Regions from separate parts of the Homo sapiens genome. Here regions 1 and 3 are each linked to region 2. The links are contacts of gene promoters, found by promoter capture Hi-C in blood cells and fetal thymus (Javierre and others, 2016). All regions are on one chromosome and are shown on one strand. Each heading gives the region's core, a stretch centred on a gene start or on the middle of the fragment in contact. The rest is flanking DNA. Distances are from core to core; before and after follow the strand shown.

What was found. Contacts are between HindIII fragments. The CHiCAGO score rates a contact against its expected background, and 5 or more counts as called.
Region 1: a contact is called between a fragment that was not itself captured here and the fragment with the promoter of RFESD in region 2, in 4 of 17 cell types (erythroblasts, endothelial precursors, megakaryocytes and 1 more). The highest score is 7.7, in erythroblasts.
Region 3: a fragment that was not itself captured here is called in contact with the fragment with the promoter of RFESD in region 2 in 1 of 17 cell types (M0 macrophages); the score reaches 5.4 in M0 macrophages.

The regions. Positions count from the first base shown.
Region 1 is chr5:96,338,176-96,341,081 of GRCh38, forward strand. All of the region lies in intron 3 of LOC101929710 (a long non-coding RNA gene), which reads left to right. The region is part of intron 1 of LOC107986365 (a long non-coding RNA gene); the gene reads left to right. It also overlaps a transcript of CAST not described here. Among named protein-coding and RNA genes, the nearest start is that of PCSK1, 94 kb to the right of the region's middle. The HindIII fragment of the contact is 2,936 bases long and covers 1-2,797 here.
Region 2 is chr5:95,645,491-95,648,244 of GRCh38, forward strand. It overlaps RFESD (Rieske Fe-S domain containing), which reads left to right and starts at 1,287. Exons shown (of 6, transcript NM_001131066.2): 1 at 1,287-1,327. The HindIII fragment of the contact is 4,150 bases long and covers 1-1,596 here.
Region 3 is chr5:96,612,366-96,615,294 of GRCh38, forward strand. The region is part of intron 4 of LOC101929710 (a long non-coding RNA gene); the gene reads left to right. It also overlaps a transcript of CAST not described here. Among named protein-coding and RNA genes, the nearest start is that of CAST, 49 kb to the right of the region's middle. The HindIII fragment of the contact is 1,613 bases long and covers 840-2,452 here.

The DNA.
Region 1 (2,906 bases), core at 80-2,579, 690 kb after region 2:
GAAACGTTCAACAAACAAAACAACAAACCTATTTTTATTCTGCTTTCATATTTCAAATGCATTTATGCACTTCAAATTTCAGTTTCAAATATTCTTGAGAGTTTCAAAAACTCTGCATCGTTTTTTGACTTATGACTTAATGCTATATGCTGCCTTATGCTGTTTTACTTCTGCTTTCTTCATACTTTGCTTCATTTATTATCCTATTCTTTCCTTCCTTCTTCCTTTGTAATCCTTGTTTATGGTATTATTAGAACTTGTAAATTTCTGTAGGTAGTGGTTACAATATAGGTAACTCACAAGGCCTAAACAGGTATATTTAGATAATAGAAAGTATTGAACTCTGAGTCTGGAGTGGGAAAAGTTGATCACATCACTTCTCCCCCCAAACAACTTTGCTCTGAGATTTAGTCTAAAGAGATTCACTTTTCAATAAGTAGAAATGTGATTTGGTGGATAGCTTGCTGCTCATTCCAAAGTATATTATATTTCTCTTTCTGGAAGCGAACCCCTGGGAAGAGGGTGCTTGGTGAGCTCTGGATGCCGTGCCCAGAGGCCAGGGGTTTTTGGAAATGCCGCAGAACATCCTGTTCCTGGGAGCCCTTCTGCCTGGTTGTTTGTGCTCTAGAGACTTGGCTCCTGGTGTTCTTGCTCAGACCTTTGGACTTTGGCAAGGCTACTTCTCATGTTTCTGTCTTCCTCTGTGTGCCATTCTGGCTCTGTAGATGGTTTGGTTTTTTGTGTTGTGACAGTGGAGGCTGCTTGGAGTGCACTGCCAGGCATTGGCTCATGGGCACTCTGCTCCATTTCAGTAACAGCAACAGAACTTGGATTTGACTGGGAAATAATAACCATTACTGGAAGAAAAAAGTAGCAAAACATATTTCCTAATATGTGCTAACATAATGAGGGGCCAGGTCTCCAGCTTTACGGGTGATTATTATAGTTTTTGATTGTTGCCAGTTACCAACACTAAGTACTTTAGCTGTGCAACTTGATTTGAACAGCATTGCCAGAAGAGCACCATCAAAGGCTTTTGATAACATGCTACCAAGAAAATATGTGACACCAAGATAACATACGACCCCAAGAAACTTATTTAATCTTCTTGGTGCATCTATAAAAATAGAACCAAGTAGAAAAACAGTATAAAAAGCAAAACGTTTCTCACTGGGGTTTTGTGAAGGATACCAACTAGCCCTCATGAAGTATTGTGAGTTTCCTGGAAGGAAGGCCTTTTGTAAGTTCAAGTTATTGCCATTCACTAATTATTGGTCATAACATTGCACATGATAGATGGGAAATGGAAGAGTGGGAGAATTAAGTGATTAAGCTAAAATCACACAGTGAGCTGGGGGAAAACCCAAAAGTGCAAAGAGATCTAAATTTGTTTCATTGGAAGAACACAGTTATATCTGGACAAAGCCCCAGAGTTTAAGTGACAAGGACACCTAACATAAAACTTGAAGTCATAGGCATGTAGCCAAATAATACAAATATCCTTGTTAAATGCAAGTGTATCCATACCAGTTATGGATACACTTGTCCTTGGAGGAGAGCTAAGGTGAGTCCTGCTGAGGACAGGAACTCTTCTGTGTTTGATTTGCAGGTAGAGCGAGTAGTTGACCCTCTGAGCCCAAAGCTGCAGAGAACACAGTAAACCTAGTAAACTGAGTGTGGCTATCTCCCCAGGGTGGCCCTCTGAGAATCCCTCCTAGGTTCCTGAGAGAGACAGGTAGACAGGCTATAGGTGGAAAGAGACAAAGTGCCTTGAGCTCTGTGGGTTAGGATCCTATCTTCAACCCCTAGACACTTAAAAGTCTTGCCTGAACTCATGGCCTTTCAATGAGGAAAGCATCACAGAAAGACTTTATGGTAATCGGACAGGAAACAATGACTGGGCAAAATTTTTTAAGCAGTCAGTATTAAGAGAAAGAAGGAAAGCCATGTCTTTGCTATTTACCTCAAGGTTATATTTTGCAGCATCTAATGCCAACTATTAAACAAGGATACACTCTTATCTAATTTGCGCTGTTGTCTTCCCAGGATCTGGAACATTTTCTGCGGGAGTCCACCTTTATCTCTAGAAGCCTCTGGCAAACTGTTTCATTTCAGCTCAGGTCCTTTTGTAGAAAGAACTTGATGCTGAAAGCAGCTCGCCCCTTCTGCCCTCAACCCCCACTCTCCCCCTACCCTCCCCACCATGGTTAACTTGTTTTTCATCTTTGTTCTGAGTTGCTTTGGCTGATTCAATTTTTATTTCCGTTTTTAATGAGTTAGTAATTCAGTGATCTTGGCTTTGAATCTTTGGAACTGTGGGTTTTTAGTAAGGATTGAATCAGCTTGTTGGCTCCTAATAGACTCTGAAATCCAGTAATATTCGTGATGTGTTTGTTCACTCCGTTGACTGCCAGGTCCCGGTAGGAGCAATGGCCAACAGAGAAGAATCGAGGTAAATCCTCCTTTGTTGCCTAAGAGCTGTTGTTGTTTACCCCAGTTTATAACCTCTTCACACTGAAGCATCACCCTTCAAAGGAGGATGTTGCTTCCCACTTTGATTATCATTTACTTGACTTTACAAGAAACTTTCACATCTTCCAAAACAGTAAGCTGTAAGATTTGCTCCAAGCTCTACGCAGTATATACTATGACTATTTTCCATTTAGAAATTAACTTACATTACAGCTGTAAGTCTATATACTGAACTTATGATGCTCGTTACTAAATGAATGATAATGGACATGAAATAGTCTGTAATTCATAGTCAAAATCTACCATTGCTATGTTTGTCTAAGGAAGCTTCAGTGAGTATACTTCAGATGCATATGAAGTTAGAAAAACAGTTAACAGAAATAGTTCAGTAGAGAAATCCTGATCCTAGGACTAATAAAACTAGATTTTCTTAA
Region 2 (2,754 bases), core at 37-2,536:
TTGGGTTCACACTGGAATCACTCAGGAAGTTAAAAACATACATTGAATCTGCCCACTCCCTTCCCACCCCAAATAATCTGTGTTTTATTTTGTTGGTCTGGCATACAGACTGGGCATTACGACTTTTCAAAACTCCCAAGCGACTCTAAGGCATAGCCAGGGTTAAGAATCACTGCACTGGAAAGTAGTCAAGGAAATTAAAAACTTAGGCTCATCTAGTTTCCCAGCTCGGAACACAAATATGAGGGTTTTGGTGGTTTTCTTTGTTGTTGTTGTTGTCAATTCAGGGAAGTACAATGAGAAAAAAGCAAAATTGCAAAGTTCATAATATGAAAGTGAAAACTCTCCATCTCCTCCCAAAGCAACCACTATTGTTTCTTTTGATTTTTCGAGAAAAAGTTTATGTACATACCTGCATGTTTGTATTTCAAAAAATAATTGTTTACATTAAAGAGAGGACACCATATATAGTATTCTACGCTTTGCCTTTAATATTCATTACATGATGGGCCTGTCCTTTGAGTATACAGTACACAGCTACGAAGTAATTCACATGTCTGTACTGTTGTGCTGTGTTTTATTGAACCATTCCTCCGTGTTATCACTTCAGCTATTTTCACTACTTCACAGCAATAAACATTTTTTTTTTTTTTGAGATGGAGTTTCGCTCGTGTTGTCCAGGCTGGAGTGCAACGGCGCGATCTCGGCTCACCGCAACCTCTGCCTCCTGGATTCAAAGCGATTCTCCTGCCTCAGCCTCCTGAGTACCTGCGATTACAGGCCTGGGCCACCACGCCCGGCTAATTTTGTATTTTTAGTAGAGATGGGGTTTCTCCATGTTGGTCAGGCTGGTCTCAAACTCCCGACCTCAGGTGATTCGCCCGCCTCGGCCTCCCAAAGTACTGGGATTACAGGCGTGAACCACCGCGCCCGGCCTTAACATCCTTATACATGGGTTACCAGCATCGCGACGACCTTCTGCAAATATTTTTATAGGGTAAATAACTGAATGAAGTCGCTGGGCGCATCTAAAATTTGAATAAATGTAATGAGATCAACAAACAACTAAAAAGTAAACTGATGCTATCCACATTTGTCAAGTACACGAGTATGCCTGCCAGTTTGAAGGTGCTGGCGCGGCGCTGTTGGCCAGAGATCTCTATCAACCAGGGTCATCTGCCGGCAATGCCATAGAGGCGGTCCCGGGGGCGGGCCTTCTTGGGTCACGTGGACGGCCTCGCCCCGCCCCCGTCGAGGCGCCGCGCACGTCTGGAGCTCTGGCTCGTGCAGTAGCGTCACGCGGAGGCGGAGCGAGGACTCGGGGACAGTAAGTTCTGTTCTCGCCGCGCAGGGGGCGGGCTGGCGGGACCAGCTGCTTCCGGCTGGGCTGCGGGCGTGGACTCCTCATTCCGGCTGTGGCCGCGCCGCTGCGGGGCCTGAGGCCCTCTTGGGTTTTGGTTCAGCGTTAGTTAACGGTTAACCCGCCAAGGCGGGCTTCCGCCCAGGCACAGGAGACTCACCGAGCTTGTTCACCTTGAAACTTGGGCCACACCTGAGACCTGCCACCTAAGGGGGGTACGCGGGTCGTTTTTAACAAGCTTTCATGGCATTTGTGCCATGAAAGCTCTAAAGTATAGAAGCTGCTCCAGGGCTTCCGCAGCCCCGGCCGTCCTGGAGATACTCGCCTCCTGGAGTCTGTGTCGAGAATTTGCAGCACCTGGACAGCCACGTGCAGTCTCAGAACTGCAGGCGGTCTTTACCGAAATGTTAAACACAACTTGAAGTTAGGCAGGATAACTGCCAGAGCTGGATGGACCTTAGAGGTGCCAGCTAACGCGCTGTGAGCGTTTTCTGCGGTTAGGCCTGCTCTAAACATTTGACATGTGTTAAAGCATTTATGTGCTTTACCCACACCCCTATGTGGCGGGCCCTTCTTAAAGTAAAAGAAACTGCAGCACAGCGAAGTTAAGCAACTTGCCCCAAATCACGCAGAACTGGGATGCAAACCCAGGTCTAGCTCACTCGTGATCACAATTCAACATCATACGATGGTGCTGATTTCCAGAGCAGCTCTGTGACTTTATATAAAATTATTGGGCAAGCGTTCAATTGTAAACATTCGTGAACATAGCTGTTGCACATTAGCGTTCCTTTTTTTTTTTAATTCAGGACCATCTTTGGTGACAAATATAAATATCAATACTATATATATCACCAATATACATATTTGCTTTGCTAAAAGGTTTCTGTGTCTTCAGGATAGTTTACTTGCAAGCCTCATGTTTTTATAAAAACGTGGGTGCTACCTGAATAAAACTAATGCCTACCCGTTGGCGGTTTTGTGAAGACTAATGAACTATTATATTCAAAGGGTCCAAGCAGTAGGCATTTACTAAAGGACAGCTAGTTTTATCTGTTATTATTCTGCCATTCAGAGAGATACCAAAACTACTCTCTAAGGCATTTCTCTTCCCTGCATGTAAAAGCAAGGGTGTCATACTTGAGATAAGCATTCTGATAATGTGTAGGCAAAGTTTCCACACTTGGTAAAAGCATCTTAGTCATGGTTCAAGACGAGTGACAAGTAAGTACGTTTCACTTCATGTTTCTTTTATCTCCCGTGTCTTGTGGAAATTTGAGTTACACTAAATATTTTTTTAAATTCCACTTGAATTTATTTCCTTTGTTGGAAAGGAATCTAATAGTGACCGAGTATCCATTTAGCTAATTTGTAATTTTATATGGAGTTAGCAC
Region 3 (2,929 bases), core at 396-2,895, 970 kb after region 2:
GAGAGCTAAACATTGCATGCATGTGGGCATAAGATGGGAACAATAACACTAAGGACTCCAAAACAGGGAGGGAGGAAAGAGAGCAAGAGTTGAAAAACTACTTACTGGGTACTATGTTCACTCTCTGGGTGTTGGGTTCAATAGAAGCCCAAACCTCAGCATTTCACAATATATCCACGTAACAAACCTGCATACATACCCGCTGAATCTAAAATTTGAAGAAAATAAAACAAAAACAGAGAAATCTGCACTTGTACCGGTTTAAAGAAATAAATACGTTTTAATCTAATCAAATATATCAAATCTTTTACTTTATAATTTTGGTTTACTGGATTTTGTTAATATGCTCTTTCTTACACTGAGATTATGCAAAAATTCTTCTGCATTTTCCTCAAACTTATTTTAGTTTTGCTTTAGATGTTTAGATCTCTTATCAACGGGGTAACAATTTATCTTTGTGTATGATATAAACAAGAAGTCTAAATAAATATACACACATATATACATACATACACACATATATACATGTGTAAATACACAGTACATGTAATTTTTCTCTGTGGGTAACCAATTAATGTTTATCAGTTAGCCCATGCATGTTCTATTGATTTGTAATGCCACTGCTTCATGTATCCAATTTCCAAATATGTATGAGTCTCTTTCTGAACTCTCTATTCTGTTCCACTGGCAAGTCATCCATCACTGTGCCAATAGCACACTGCCTGAACTACTATAGTTTTATAATAAGTCTTGATATCTGGTAGAGTGACCCTCTCCATCTTCTTCTCTTTCAGAATTTTCTATTCCTAGCTGTTTTCTTCCATTCAAATTTTGAAATAAGCTTGTCAAGTTCAGCAATAAAAATCCAGTTGAGGTTATAATTTGAATTGCATTAGAATAGATGGATTTGAAGATGAATGACAGTTTTCTTCTTATCCTTGAACATGGTTTCATCTCTCCTTTCATTTAAGTATTCTCGAAGGTCTTTCAATGAAATTTCATACTTTTTTCATATTTGCACATCCTTTGTTAGATTTAATACTAGGTACTTCAGATTTTGTAATACTACTATTTGTGCTATCTGTATTTTCTGTTTAAGTCTTCACAACCCTATGAGTTAGATATTTTCACGTTCATTTTCTAGCTAAGGAAACTAAGGTCCAGAAAGATTAAGTAACTCACCATGTTATCAGTAGTCAGTGATGGGGACGGGATGCAAAACAAGTTCTATCTGACCCCAAATTCTGTGTTCTTAACCTCCAATCCATACTCTGTCTTCTGATGATTGTCTTTAAAGCATTTTTAAATGAAACAACTTAAGGGTATTCAAAGGCACAAAACAACAACAACAATAGTAACTACCTATCTCCCTGGAGAAAACGTTAAGTACCTCAAACTTTATTCTCTATACAAATAACCTGGGACTTCTATTACAATGTACATCTTAATCCTGTAGGTCTGGGGTGGAGCCTGCAAATATTTAGGTATTCCCAAATGTCTTTCAATGAAATTTTATACTTTTTAAAATAATTGCACATCTTTTGTTAGATTTAATACTGGGTGCCTTATACTGTTTTTTAAATTGTTGTTCATTTATCTGCATTGTGAGGCTGGGTATCCTCACAGCCCTATGAGTTAGATGTTTTATGTCTATTTTGTAATGAAGGAATCTAAGGTATAAAGTAACTAACAATATATCATCAGCAGTAAGTGACCAGGTAATACAAATGCTGCCGGTCCAAGGAACCCCTTCCAGAACCACCACTAACTCTACAGCATTTTCTGGTGAGGAACCCTTTAATTAACATGATTAAAGGTGAGAACTCCACCAGATGGCAGCAGAAGCTCATCATTTTGTCTCAAATGATTCCATTTCCCTCTGGATGGAGTGTTAGCTGTTGGCAAATGCCTGACTCGTTAGGTTATTGCGGTGAAGTGAATCAGAATCAGGGCCTTTCACTCCTGATGCTGTGTGCAATCTTACCTACTACAGCGCCTCAGTGTTGACAAGGGATTTTCAGCAAAAGCATCCAGCCGGGACATGCCCACGAGCTTCTCCCAAAAACCTTATGGCAGGAGGCTTATAAATGAGAATGAAAACTGTTTTCCATGGGTTGCTTTTTCATCACAGTGAGTTCAATTTAGGTACTTAACCAAGAAAAGGAAACATGATTTGAAATGTTTGGCAGGGGATTAGAAGAGGAAATGATTCATTCACTGTGGGGAACGGGAAGCTATTCAGGCAGATAAACCTGAAACAGAGTCCAAAGATTCAGAGGAAATCCAAGAATAATGCCAGGGACCCACCTCCATCCAAAGCCTAGGCCCAGCCTCTCCCCAGGGGTGCCAGATTACCCCTCTTCCTCAGTGCTTTTTTTCTTTTTAAAAACTGAATATATATATATAGTTGAATTATGAAAAGGATCCATCATCTTGTACTGCTCCCACCCTAAGCTTGGTAAAATGAGGCACCTGTCACTAAGAAGGCTAATGAGTTCATTATATTCTCTTGCCTTTTAGTTACTTAAAAGCAATAATTTGGGCACTGGGGAGGCCCTCAGCGCTGCCTTGAGTGAGCTGTGAGTAGGCTTTAGCCTAGTATAGGCAGCCCCCAAATTTCAATAGTTCAACTTAAGATTTTTGAACTTTACGATGGTGCAGAAATCATATGCATTCAGTAGAAGCTGTACTTGGAGTACCCATACAGCAATTCAATTCTGTTTTTCAATTTCAGTACAATATTCAATACATTACATGAGATATTCAGCACTTTATTATAAAACAGGCTTTGTGTTAGATGATTTGCCCAACCACAGGCTATTGTAATTGTTGGAGCATATTTAAGGTAAGCTAGGCTAAACTATGATGTTCAGCAGCTTTGGTGTATTAAGTGCATTTTTGACTTACAATATTTTCTATTTCCAGTAAG